2 separate regions of the Homo sapiens genome follow, and region 1 is linked to region 2. Evidence: promoter capture Hi-C in 16 types of primary human blood cells and fetal thymus (Javierre and others, 2016). All regions are on one chromosome and are shown on one strand. Each heading gives the region's core, a stretch centred on a gene start or on the middle of the fragment in contact. The rest is flanking DNA. Distances are from core to core; before and after follow the strand shown.

Region 1 (6,209 bases), core at 2,629-5,128, 520 kb before region 2:
ATTTAAAAATCCATTTTTACTACATCACATTTTTCTGTATTTTACCTGCAATTAGTATACATTACCACTAGAGGTTGTCGTTGATATATTAGCCAGATCCATATGCCCTGTTTGAAGTTTATCCAATAAGCATGTGATTTTCTGTGATCCTGACCATAAACATTCATTACCCAGGCCTTAGTTACCTGAAATCTAGTTCCTTATTGAAATGTTTAAATATAGTCAATTCTACTCATACATGTTTCTAAAAATCACTGCAGTATACACAATCATGCAATTCAAAACTATAGGGCTTATCGAGAAAAAGTGGTTTAGAAGAACAACACTCAATAATTTGTCAGATAAAAGCAAAAATAAAAACCTATTATAAATGGTAGCACAGCTTTAACATTAAGTGGTTAAGAAATGTATACATCTTACCACACATATGGCAGTTGAGTTTGAAAATGACCTAAAGTTTGCTTAAGAGGTGGTCTCAGAAGGTGTGGTCATTTGTATGTTATTGCGAAATGGTAGGAGGACAGTCATGTGAAATCAGACGGAGAGTTTTAACTCCAAATGTGGATGAGTGTGGCTAATAACACACCGTGGGCCGAGAGAGCTGACTGATGTCTGAGGTATGTGAATTTTGTGTATTTCCGTGTGGCCCGGTTCAGCTAGGCACAACCTTTCTATGTTCATCTAGTTTTTCTTACAGATAAGCAAACACAACATTCACATTATGCTCAGATTGTTCCTTAATATGTCAATCACATTGGAACAAATTTGCATTGTTGAAACAAGAGTTATAGAAGCATTATACCAAAATATTTGCATTCTGCTCTATGACAGATATATTTGTGTTGTCATTCTCCCTGACCATATTGTGAGCTGTTGTATTCCCACTTGCTTTTGTGTCTGCCCACAGTGCTAAACTCAGTGCTTTGCCCATAGTAGGCCTTCAGCAGAAGCCTGATGAATTAGTGAGTGTGTTGTTTATTGTGGTCAGCCTAGGATGCCATAACAAAATACCACAGAATGGGTTACTTAAATAACAGAAATGTATTTTCTCATAGTTCTGGAGGCTGGGCATTCAGTGTCCTAATCCATTTGGGCTGCTATAACAAAATACAATAAACCGAATAGCTTTTATGTAACAGAAATTCATTTCTCACTGATATGGTTTAGATCTGTGTCCTCACCCAAATGTCATGTTCAATTGTAATTCCCAATGTTGGGGGCAGGCCCTGATGGGAGGTGATTGGATCATGGGGGTGGGTTCGCCTGAATGGTTTAGTACCATCCTCTTGGTCCTGCTCTCGTGATAGTGAGTGAGTTCTCACAAGATCTGGTTGTGTGTAGTACCTTCCCACTCTCTCTCTTAAGAGTTCCTGCTTCTGCCATGTAAGACACCTGCTTCCCTTCACCTTCCGCCATGATTGTAAGTTTCCTGAGGCCTCCTCAGAGGCCAAGCAGATATCAGCATCATGCTTTTTGTACAGCCTGCAGAATGGTGAGCCAATTAAACCTCTTTTCTTTGTGAATTACCCAGTCTCAGGTATTTGTTTATACAATGGGAGAACAGACTAATACAGTCAGAGTTCTAGAGGCTGGGAAGTCCAAGATCAAGGCACCTTGATGTCTGGCAAGGGCCTACTTTCTAGATGTTGCCTTCTAGCTGTGTCCTCACATGGTGGAAGGGACTAGCTATCTATCTGGGATCTGTTTTATAACAGTACCTAATCACCTCCTAAAGGCCCCATGTCCTAATATCATCATCTGGGAGATTAGAATTTCAGCGTACGAATTTGGGGAGAGCGTAAGCATTTAGTCCATTGCATTCAAGATCAGTATATCATCAGGTTTGTTGTCCCCTAAGGCCCTTCTCCTTGATTTGGAGATGGCCACCTTCTTGCATTCTCACAAGAATTATAACCAGCCTAAGTGTAGGTCTCTCCTCTGTGTGCACGAATCTTTTGTGTCTCTGCCTCTTCTTATGAGGACACCAGTCACTAAATTAGGGCTCACCCATATGATCTCATTTAAGCTTAACAATCTCTTTAAAAGTCCTGTCTCCCAAATACAGTCACATTCTGGGGTACTGGGGATTAAGACTTTAACATACTAATTTTAGCGGGGAACACAATTCCACCTATAATAACACTTATGATAAGAGTGAGTTTGATGTTGCTAAAAGTGAGAAGTGTACAGCTGTTTTGGAAGGATATTAGTAATTTTCTCAGTGCTGGTGATCAAAGATGTAAAAAAGGAGGAAGAGGATAGAGAATTAAGGTGTAAAGACAGTGTCTTTTTCTCCTGGCAGTAAGCTTTGATGTTCTTGTAAAACAGCGATGCTGAAATAGGCTCAGAAAGACTCTTTCTGCTACCCCATTCTCCTGCCTGAATTAGCAAACTCCATATAGAAATCCTAAGGGACACACCTTATAAAGTTAAATATTTGGGAGGAATGTAAAAGGGGAAAACCAACCAACCAGGAAATGTTGGTTTGACAGCTGAAATCACCTTCTCTGGAAAGTGCTGTCTTTCCCAGACTTCTATATGTGACCACAGGATGTGGCTTTTGGAAACCCAGTCTGGAGACCCAGCTGGGGAAGCTGCCAGGGAAGCGATGGTCAAGGCAGGTCAGGCTCTGGCCAAGGGTGTAGCCAGCTGGTTCATCATAGTTGGGTGGACATTTCTGTCCATGTGAAGTCTGAATGTGTCTGGGAGAGTTTAAACAGGCGATGTGAACCACATTTGGACAGAAATGTCCTCGGAGTGGACACTGGACTGTGGCCAAGGCAGCCAGAACCAGTACAGTGGAGGGTGTCCTCCAAGATGCCAGAGAAGGCCCTGTGAAAGGTGAAGAGCCAGGTCTCTGAGTTTGCCTATGGGCCAAGCCCGTCTTGTCAGGAACAAGATGAGGCTGGAGAAGTGGGTTCTTATTCTTAGGGTGGAAGAGAGGACAGGGTCTCTTTTGCAGTCATAGGGTGTGATGCGACTTTCCTAGAACATGCAACAAGCTCTTATTGATTCCGTGGGGGAGAGCTTGGAAGAGCTCTCTGAAACTGGGCTGCTACTCAGACAGGCCTTAGGGTTTTCCTGGTGCTCAGGACAGGACTGGAGTGGGTTTCATATGTAACCAGCCCAAGCATAATTTTAAAATTGTATTAAAAGGCCTCAGGTGTGGTTTAATGCCTTCAATTATTGGACTAGAGTCTCTCAAACCCTCCTGTCCCTTGACTCATGTGGTTTTAGGCCTGGAAAGAGGTGACATGGTCCACTTTGGGAGAGTCAGGGTGGAAGGGTGTTGAGGCGAGGCAGGGAGCCAGGCAAGGCCTGCTGGAGTGGAGGTGGCTTAACTAGGGCAGCCTGACCTCCTTTCCCAGTGGAGTTTCCCTCCTCTGAGCCTCTCTCAGTGGTGATTCAATGTCTCATTCGTTGGACCTGCAGGGTCACCTGTACTGAATGTGTGGAGGTTTGCATGTGCACAGGGGAGGGGACAAGAAACCTGACTTCACTGGGGCCTGCAGACTCCCATGTTGGCTCAGGGACCCCAGAAAATCAATATGCTGTCAAAGAGTTTCAGCATCTGGGGTGAGGGTGATGGTGGAGTTCTTTGTTGAATTAAATTTTTTCCTAGCTGGAGAGGTGGTGACAAAGAGTGGGTGAAAGGTTATATACAGTCTCCTTAGAAACATCATGGAGTGATGTGACTTGTCATGATCTGACTTGTCTGCGAATAAAACTGGAATTTATCCACATGGAGAGAGAATGGGTGAAGCCTTACCATACAACAATGACACTGCTAGTGGAAAAGTGCTGGAAAGGGAGTTGGGAGCTCCCTGCTTTTGTTCTGGTTTTCACTTTGTGATCTTGGCAAGTTCCTTTCTTCTCTAACCCTCATTCCCCTCATCTTGACCCAGGAAGTTTCTAAGGCTCCTTCCAGCTCTGATTCTACTCTTTTGTTCAAGGCCTCATCCACCAATGTATGAAATGGAGGCAGATTGGAGGAGGGGGACTGGTGAAAAACCCAAGAGGACCTATTCTGAAGGCTCAGCAGAAACAGGGTGCCTTCCTCCAGTGGTTGCCGCAAACATCCTGGGCCCGGCTCTCTTGGCTCATTTTGGTCTACCTGCCCTGCTGTTGGCTGATCCTGATGGCCAGGGAGACTCTGAGCTAAGATGTGAGGTCCACCTACCTCACCACCCAAGGCACTTGGATTCAGAAAGAGAAGATTCCCTCTTGGAGGAAATCAGGTGCTGTCTGTCACTAAAAGAAAGAAGAGACAAGTGGGCAGGCAGGCACTGGCTGGCTCAGGAGAGCTGGCCTCGGTGGTATTGGAGGAGCTCCTTATGGGGAAGGACGAGTGTTCTGCAGAATGAAAGTGCCTTTTCCTCTCACCAGGAATGCTGGGATGTTTGGGTTACAGGATTCTGAGAAGAAGATGGAGCATGGAGGTGCCAGGATCAGATGGGAGTGGTGTCAGGGAGGGGCCACAGAATTAATGATCCTGGATATCTGAGTGGCCTAAGCCCCAGCTCTCTGCAGGGAAGGAGAGGAGCTGAGGAGAGGCCCAGGGCATTCCAGGTGATAGCAGAGCCTGTGACTGTAACTGGATATGCCCAAGAGGTGGGGTTCAGAGAGCAAGCAGGGAGCAGCAGAAGCAGCTCAGCAGGGGCCGCCCAAGGGAGCATGGAGTGAGCAGATTCTTTGTGCCTTCCGGTGGCCTTTCCCAGGTTCCCTCCTGTGGCTGTTGAACTCTGGAGAACCTTGATCCTGGTGAGCAGAACTGGAGGCGCCTTGTGGGTGACCTCAAGCACTGCCCTGGGTGGGGACCGCCTGGCTGTCCTGGCTGGAAAGTGGATGTGCACAAGCATAACCCACGGACTCTTCAAGACAAGGTCGATTTGGCCTGTTTCCCCTGCATCATACTTCCATGGCTCTGTTTCTGCTGGACTCTTCCTGCATTCAGAGAATTGGGTCAGCATTTTGGTTCAGTGTAGAAAATAGCTTCAAAATAGAGCTGTCCAACAGCAGAAGAGGGTGCAAGCAAAGGCCAAATTCCTCCCTCCCTCCCTTCCTCTCCCCATCCTTCCTGCCTGCCTGCCTGCCTGCCTTCTTTGCTTCCTTTCTTCTCTCTCTCTCCCCTCCTTCCTCCTTCCCTCTTTCTTTCTTTCTCTGACCACTACTTAGTTTATTCATTTATTCATCCATTCAACAAATACCTGCCTTGCATGGCTGTAGAAAGGTTATGTGGGATGCAGCTTACCTTGCGATCAGCCTCTCCTTCCCCTATCTCCTATATGCAGGAATCCCCAGCTGTTGTTGAATGAATGGACCCCCATTTGCCAACTATTCCAGCCGGGATTCTTTGTGATAATTTGTAGAGAGCCTGAGCCAGGTTGGTCCCCAAGGGATCTGGCTGGAAAGTTCCTGTGCATGATTCACATGTCCCAATCAGCTGTGATTAAGCTTTCCTATCTCCCTGAGAGCTTCATGGAAATCCAGAGATATTTTCAGCCTTGGATCACAGGATTTGGCTAGGCTGTGGTCTGGGCACAGATAGCAGCTCACGAGAACAGCTCACCGGGGAGCCATTTTCAGCCAGCTCTGCAGCTCTGCTCATATACCTTTCATCAGGCTGCATTTCCATGAGAGTTTAAAGATGGTGCATTCACTGAAGAGTCTCCCTGCCTGGGAGAGAGGACGTCTGTGGGACACTCGGTGCATGTTGCATTTATTCTTCTCATTAAACCATCACAGCTGGGTGGGTGGCTCACACCTGTACTCCCAGCACTTTGGGAGGCTAAGGCAGGAGGACTGCTTGTGTCCAGGATTTTGAGACCAGCCGGAGTATCATAGCAAGACCTTACTTCTACAAAAAAATTTAAAAAAATTAGCTGGGTGTGGAGTCATGCACCTGTAGCTGCAGCTACTCAGGAGGCTGAAGTGGGAGGATCGCTTGAGCCCAAGAGGTCCAGGTTGCAGTGAGCCATGATTGTGCCTCTACACTCGAGCCTGGGTGACAGAGCGAGACCCTGTCTCAAATAAACAAATAAATAAATACCATAACAGTGAAATATTAATAGCTGTAATGAATTCTTTTACTTTTTTAGATATAGGGTCTCACTACATTGCCTAGGTTGTTCTCAAACTTCTGGCCTCAAGCAGTCCTTCAGCCTCATCCTCCCATGTAGCTGGGACTACAGGTGTACACCATCATGCCT
Region 2 (6,712 bases), core at 1,372-3,871:
CACCTAAGCTTACAGAGGCTCCACCAACTAGAATGCAGTCTCCGTGGTAGTTATAGGAGGGCAAGAGAGTGGAGAATTACAGATTGGCTTTTCATTGTCTCAGCCTAGAAGTAACCTGCATAGCTTCCCCTTACATTTCATTGGTCAGACAGAACCACATGGCCCTGCCTACCTACAAATATTGTATCTGTGAAGCCTGATTATCTCTGCTATAGGTTTTTTACTCTGTGCTCTCACTGTGCCAATAGTGAAATTGTGGCTGTTTCTTGTGAATCTACTCCTATCCCTGGACTCTAAAGAGTGGGGGCCTCATATTACAAATTATGTAACTTTGGTGCCTAGCACAAGACTGGTGCCCAGTGATTGTGGAGTGATTGAACAATCGGACAAAGTAAAGGTGAACCTAAAGAAAGGTGGAGGCAGTGCCTGGGAGGATCAGTTTAGGAGCTTCCCTATCTGAAAAATGAAGCAGGGAAGGCCGAGAAAACAATGCTATCAGTTTTAAAAATGAAACCAAACCTCACTGAATAGAGTGGACAGTCTGTGTGTAACACAACTCATTGTCGGGGTGGGTTTCCATCAACAACAAAACAGACTGCATATGTAGAAGAAAGGGAAAATGGGACCCCCAGGGGCACTACGTGGCTTTGGAAAAAAAATCTGATCTTAGAGCAGCCTCAAGAATAAACTAGGCACAGAACAGTCTGACTTCCCTCTCATAAGTTTTATTTATTTATTTATTTATTTTTTTTTGAGACGGAGTCTCCCTCTGTCGCCCAGGCTGCAGTGCAGTGGCGCGATCTCCGCTCACTGCAAGCTCCGCCTCCCGGGTTCATGCCATTCTCCTGCCTCAGCCTCCCGAGTAGCTGGGACTACAGGCGCCCGCCACCATGCCCGGCTAATTTTTTGCATTTTTAGTAGAGACGGGGTTTCACTGTGTTAGCCAGGATGGTCTTGATCTCCTGACCTCGTGATGCGCCTGCCTTGGCCTCCCAAAGTGCTGGGATTACAGGTGTGAGCCATCGCTTTCGGCCCCCTCTCATAAGTTTTTGGAGCTTAAGAAGGACTAAGGTGCAATCCCTGGGTCACCATGGAAAAACCTTGACTTATCCAGCTGTTTTTTTTTTCTCTTGTAGAAGAAAAAAAGGAATTAACCCTACATAATTACTTCCTATTTCAAGTCAGTTTTATTGACCTCGGTTTGCAAACTAAGTGGGCTCATCCGGATTCTAAAGATATTTAAGGATACTTTCAGTTATAAGTAGGATGACTATCCATCCAGGTTTGAACCTGCTGTTCATGGTTAATTTATTAATAGCATGTCTCACAGTTCATTCTCAGAAATGCTTGGATATGGCCGATAAATTGAAACGTCATCCTAGTTAAAAGTAACGTTTTTAACTGGCTGGAGAAAGGTGACTTGGGGTTCTAGGAAGGGACAGAGGAACAAACATTCTGTTGGCTCAGCACGCCCAGCCTGTGTTGGGCTGGGCACCTTAGAGGACCTGTTTCAGGACTGCGTGACTGGCGTTTTGCTGGGAGTAGCCCAGGTGTTTTAACCACTTCCTGAAGAACAAGGTTCGGTAAAAAGAGGCTGGGGCGTAGGCGTGGGTTCCTGTCCCTGCCATATGCTGTCTTCCTGATCTTCGGAAGTCACTTCAAGCACCTGATCATCAGTTTCCTTATCTGTAAAACTGGAGTAGTAATGTTTCCCTCCAAACGCCGTCGTATTTAATTCATTTAACAGCAGCCACTATTATTCCATTATACAGACGAATAAATAGACGTTATGAGAGGGCAAAGTGCGCTGATCAGGGCTCATAATAATTCTAACAGCTACTGTTTAGGAACCAAGTACTCAAGCAGCCTGTGCACAATCTCTAATTTCTAGAAGAGAAGACGGATACTTGGAAAGAGAACTTGAACAATGTCATGGAACTCATAAATGGCTTGAGAAAGGCTGATCCTAGGAAATCTGCTTCAGAACCCGCGCTCTCACTGCATAAGGCGTATTTCAAGGGAGGAACGGGCAGGCATCTAGCACCACTCTTCGGACTCCCCATCCAGTGCTCTTTTCCTCTTTTCGTTACACTGCACTGCTGGTCGGAAACCCATCGTGGAAGTGGATCAAACACAACAAAGGGCAGGGGGCGTTGGAAAACCGGGCGAAGTCGCGCAGACCGAGACGACCCACCGGCCCCAGCAAATCACCAGGGGCCGAAATCCAGTGTCCTCCTCCCTTCAGCCCAGAAGCCAGGTCACCTTTTAGACTTGCTCTCTTGGCGGGGAGGAAGCGTGGAGCCCCCTGGTCCGGCTAAGAGCTTACGTAAGGCCCGCGGGCGGCTGCGCCCCGGTCTCCCATGGGTGTGCGCAGAGCCCCCGGGCCGGAGCAGGCCTTCCCCTGTCCGCTCCCCCAGTCTCTCGGCCCAGGACCACGGGGGAGTTCAGGACCACCGGCCCCACGCCGGCAGCGTCCGCGTTGGGCGGCGGCGTCCCCCGCAGCCACCCAGCTTCCCGGGGGAGGAGCAGCGCATCGCGCAAGCATCCGGGAGCGGCGGAGGGGGCGGGAGGAAGGGCGAGAGGAGGAAGCGGGATTTAAACGAAAGGCGGTGACGCCACACAAAAGATTTCTATAGGCTCCAGGGAGGTTACGGCCGAGGCGGCGGCGGCGGCGAGCCCGGGGGCGAGGCGCGGACGGGAACAGGAAAAGCCTCCGGCAGCCCCTGCGGGCGGCGGCGCAGCCACGGCCGCGCTCCGAGGTGAAGCCGCGCGCGGAGAGGAAGCGGGTGTTTTCCCCTCTGCCTTTCGGCCCCCGCCCTTCCTTTCAGTTTCTGCCCGCTCGCTCGGAAGTTGGCGGTTGACAAAAATGGCAGGAGCCGGGGCCCGGGCCGGTTGCCGCAGCGCCGCGGGGACCTTCTGAGTTGGCCCGGTGGCAGGGAGACTCGTGCAGGGGCGTCCGATGCGCGGGGCCCGGGGCCTCGGGAGAGCTCAGCTGCTGCGGGCCCCAGACGAGGCGACAGGGATGGACTTGCGTAGACAGCCAGCGCCGGGCCGCCGGGCGCGCGGTCTGGGAGGGCGTGCCGCCGCGGCGCCGGGCCGCGCTCTGTGAACCGGCGAGGCGGGAAGGGGCCGCCGTGGTGCTCGGCACGCCCGGGCGTGTGGCGGGCGGGCGAGAGCTTGAGCGCGATCCGGGCGGCCGCTGTGCGCAATCAGTGCAGGCTCCCGCCCGACTCTGACTCGGCGCGGCCGCGACAGTGCCGGCCACACCCTCTGCCCCGCTGCCGCCGGCGCCGCTTCCCAAGAGCTGGAGGCAGGAGATGCGCCCGGGGCGGCCGCGCGTCCCAGAGAGCCAGCCCCGGCCGCCGTCGCGGGGAAGTGCCGCCTGGTGGGGTCACGGCGCCTGAAGCCCACGTGCGCCGCCGAGCCCGAGGTGGCCTCGAGCGCGGCGGCTGACAGCACAGCCCGCCTGAGCTGCCTCCCGCGCTCCTCCCCGAGGAAAGGATTTTGATTTCAAAGAAAGGAAGGAAGGAAGGACAACTCCCAGCTTCCCCGTCCCGCCCTCCCCGCTCCGAGGGCCGCGCCAGGCCATGCCCAAGAAGGCGGCGGCGGCGGCGAACCAGCAGAAGGGACTTTCCTGGCAGCCCGGCGACGAGGAGCGCGGACAGTGAGTTTGCTCTGCCCCGGTTCATGGTTCCTGCAAGCCCTCTAGGAGGCCGAAAGCTGCAGCCCCTCCCCTTGCCCCGAAGAGCCTTCCGCGTTCTCTCGCCCTCGGGCCCACCCCGCGCCGCCCGGGCTCCCGCCGCCGCAGCCCAGTGCCCTCTGCCCGCGGCGGTGGATGGCATGATGGTGCGGGGAAGGCACCGCGGCCTTGGCCAGCTGAGTCGCGACGGCCGCCGGGGCGGCGGCAGTGGCCGCGGCAGCGGCGGTGGTAGCGGGCTCCCCAGCGGCATGCCAGTGCCCCCCGGGCGCGATGGCTAGCGGCAGCGCCGGGAAGCCCACTGGCGAGGCGGCTTCTCCGGCTCCTGCGAGCGCCATCGGCGGGGCCAGCTCGCAGCCGCGGAAGAGGCTGGTATCCGTCTGCGACCACTGCAAGGGCAAGATGCAGCTGGTGGCTGACCTGCTGCTGCTGTCGAGCGAGGCGCGGCCCGTGCTCTTCGAGGGCCCCGCCTCCTCTGGTGCCGGCGCCGAGTCCTTCGAGCAGTGCCGGGACACCATCATCGCGCGCACCAAGGGGCTCTCCATCCTCACCCACGACGTGCAGAGCCAGCTCAACATGGGCCGCTTCGGGGAGGCGGGGGACAGCCTGGTGGAGCTGGGCGACCTGGTGGTGTCGCTGACCGAGTGCTCGGCCCACGCGGCCTATCTGGCCGCTGTGGCCACGCCGGGCGCCCAGCCCGCGCAGCCGGGCCTGGTGGACCGCTACCGCGTGACGCGATGCCGCCACGAGGTGGAGCAGGGTTGCGCCGTGCTGCGCGCCACGCCGCTGGCCGACATGACGCCGCAGCTGCTGCTGGAGGTGTCGCAGGGCCTGTCGCGCAACCTCAAGTTCCTGACGGACGCGTGCGCCCTGGCCAGTGACAAGTCACGGGACCGCTTTTCGCGGGAGCAGTTCAAGCTGGGCGTCAAGTGCATGAGCACCAGCGCGTCGGCGCTGCTGGCCTGCGTGCGCGAGGTGAAGGTGGCGCCCAGTGAGCTGGCGCGCAGCCGCTGTGCGCTCTTCAGCGGGCCCCTGGTGCAGGCAGTGAGCGCCCTGGTAGGCTTCGCCACCGAGCCGCAGTTCCTGGGTCGCGCGGCAGCTGTGAGCGCCGAGGGCAAGGCGGTGCAGACCGCCATCCTGGGCGGCGCCATGAGCGTGGTGTCGGCCTGCGTGCTCCTGACCCAGTGCCTCAGGGATCTGGCGCAGCACCCCGACGGGGGCGCCAAGATGTCGGACCACAGGGAGAGGCTGAGGAACTCGGCCTGCGCCGTGTCTGAAGGCTGCACCCTGCTATCTCAGGCTTTAAGGGAGAGGTCTTCGCCCAGGACTTTACCGCCAGTGAATTCCAATTCTGTGAATTAGCACCCCACCCCCATACCCCTTCTTCCACCCCCAGACTAAAGGAAGATACTTACTCTCTGCCCCTCTCCATTTATACCAAAGAAATCATAGGTGAAACCCCCTACCCTCCCCAACGTTAAATGCTCGAGAGGAATCTTCCACAAGGCAGGGCCATGCACGCAACCTGCACACGCACTTGGAGGGCCCAGGTGTCTCTCCACCAGCCCCCATGCAGTAGGGACTGGAAGATATGTCATCTGCTGGTTGTGTTATCACTCCCACCCCCTACCCCAGCCCGTCTTCCGGAATTTCTCAACTAAATTTCATTATTGGGCAGGAAGGAGGTCATGGGTTCATTTCATTTTTGTTTTTTGTGTTTTTAATTAAAAGAAAGGTTACCTCAGTTTTCACTCCTTAGACATGGATGTAGCTACCTTTTTTTGTATGTCTTTTTTTTTTTTAAGCAATCGTGTTGAATTAGGAGTATACTTGGTGTGGAAAGAGTATGAATTTGCCATGTGATTTGCAAATGGGGGGAAGCTACTGTGAGCGTGTGTTTTTTTAATTTACACTATAGAGTGATTTTTTTTTCCCCCAACGTCAAGTTTTTACCTTGCATGTACTGGAGTATTTATTTCATCTATTAAAATGTTATGTTTCTCAGATGGCTTTTTGCAATTATTGTTGATTTTTCAATAATTGTAATTTTGCATGCTGCATGTCATGTATGGGAAGGGTCTGTGGGAAGGCTATTTCAATAGTAGTGAGGCGGGCCCCCAATTCCCAGCCCTTTCTACTATTTCCTCAAGAAAAAGTACTGCTCAAGAAGTACTCCCTTGAGCAGCCTGGAACTGAAGAGAGGACTATGTGTAACGTTCTATTTTAAAAGGCAGGTGACACAAATGGGATTGGGTTATGTAGAGTGCTTGGGACGGTTTTGTCTCATTTTTCCTGGAAAGTGATTTAGCTCCCTTTGTCTCCACTTACCTTTCCATCATCATGAACAGTGGCTCAGGCTGCTTGAATTCTGATTTGTATTCTGCCTATCATTTTCAGATTAAATCCTAATCCTGTGTGGTATGCCAGCCTTCCCAACTCAGAGTCTCTGGATGGAACTCTAAAAGTACTGTACATCAAGTGAGAATAGTTAGCATCTTTTATGTACACAGGTCTATTCAGACAAGATCCTCATGATTTCAGAAAAAATATAGAGAGGGTCCTAGACTGCTTAATAGAGGAAAGAAGTATCCTGGAAAGCTTGTTAAGAACGTTCTAGAGCCACAACATGATTGTAGGCCAAGGGCTTGTTTTTGTGACCTTGATCTAAGATAATGCCATGGTTGATTGTATGTTGGAAGAATCTTTGATTGGAATTTGGAGTAATATTAAGGTAGTTTGTCTTTTCTGCAGACATTTTTAGGAGTCTTTTTGTGTGAGTGGTGGTGGAGTGTATAGTTTTGTTGAACCTAGTTAAATTCTGAATATCTTCCCACTAAAAGCACAACAAATCTATTTACAGTGCCTGAAGCCTGGGAGAGCCACATGAGTAAAAACTCGTACGTGGTTTAGATTTGTTCCATTTACATTTTTCTTGGGATTTGTTGTGCTTAAACCTTTGCAGTTCCCACAGATCTGAAAAGAAAGCATTTTTCACTGTAATACATTAAGAGAGAG

Evidence for each region. The method cuts DNA at HindIII sites, captures the fragments that hold promoters and counts their contacts. A CHiCAGO score of 5 or more calls a contact.
Region 1: a fragment that was not itself captured here is called in contact with the fragment with the promoter of TLNRD1 in region 2 in 1 of 17 cell types (monocytes); the score reaches 5.4 in monocytes.

The regions. Positions count from the first base shown.
Region 1 is chr15:80,475,686-80,481,894 of GRCh38, forward strand. All of the region lies in intron 5 of ARNT2 (aryl hydrocarbon receptor nuclear translocator 2), which reads left to right. It overlaps LOC124903537 (a long non-coding RNA gene), which reads left to right and starts at 4,260. Exons shown (of 2, transcript XR_007064731.1): 1 at 4,260-6,209. RefSeq lists enhancers at 4,200-5,119, 5,120-6,038. The HindIII fragment of the contact is 3,148 bases long and covers 2,305-5,452 here.
Region 2 is chr15:80,998,302-81,005,013 of GRCh38, forward strand. It overlaps TLNRD1 (talin rod domain containing 1), which reads left to right and starts at 2,622. Exons shown (of 1, transcript NM_022566.3): 1 at 2,622-6,712. The coding sequence starts at 3,971. The coding sequence ends at 5,059. LOC128071545 reads left to right here and starts at 3,841. Exons shown (of 1, transcript NM_001414893.1): 1 at 3,841-3,978. The coding sequence starts at 3,841. The coding sequence ends at 3,978. RefSeq lists silencers at 2,250-2,939, 2,980-3,439, 3,790-3,919 and an enhancer at 4,413-5,297. The HindIII fragment of the contact is 6,287 bases long and covers 7-6,293 here.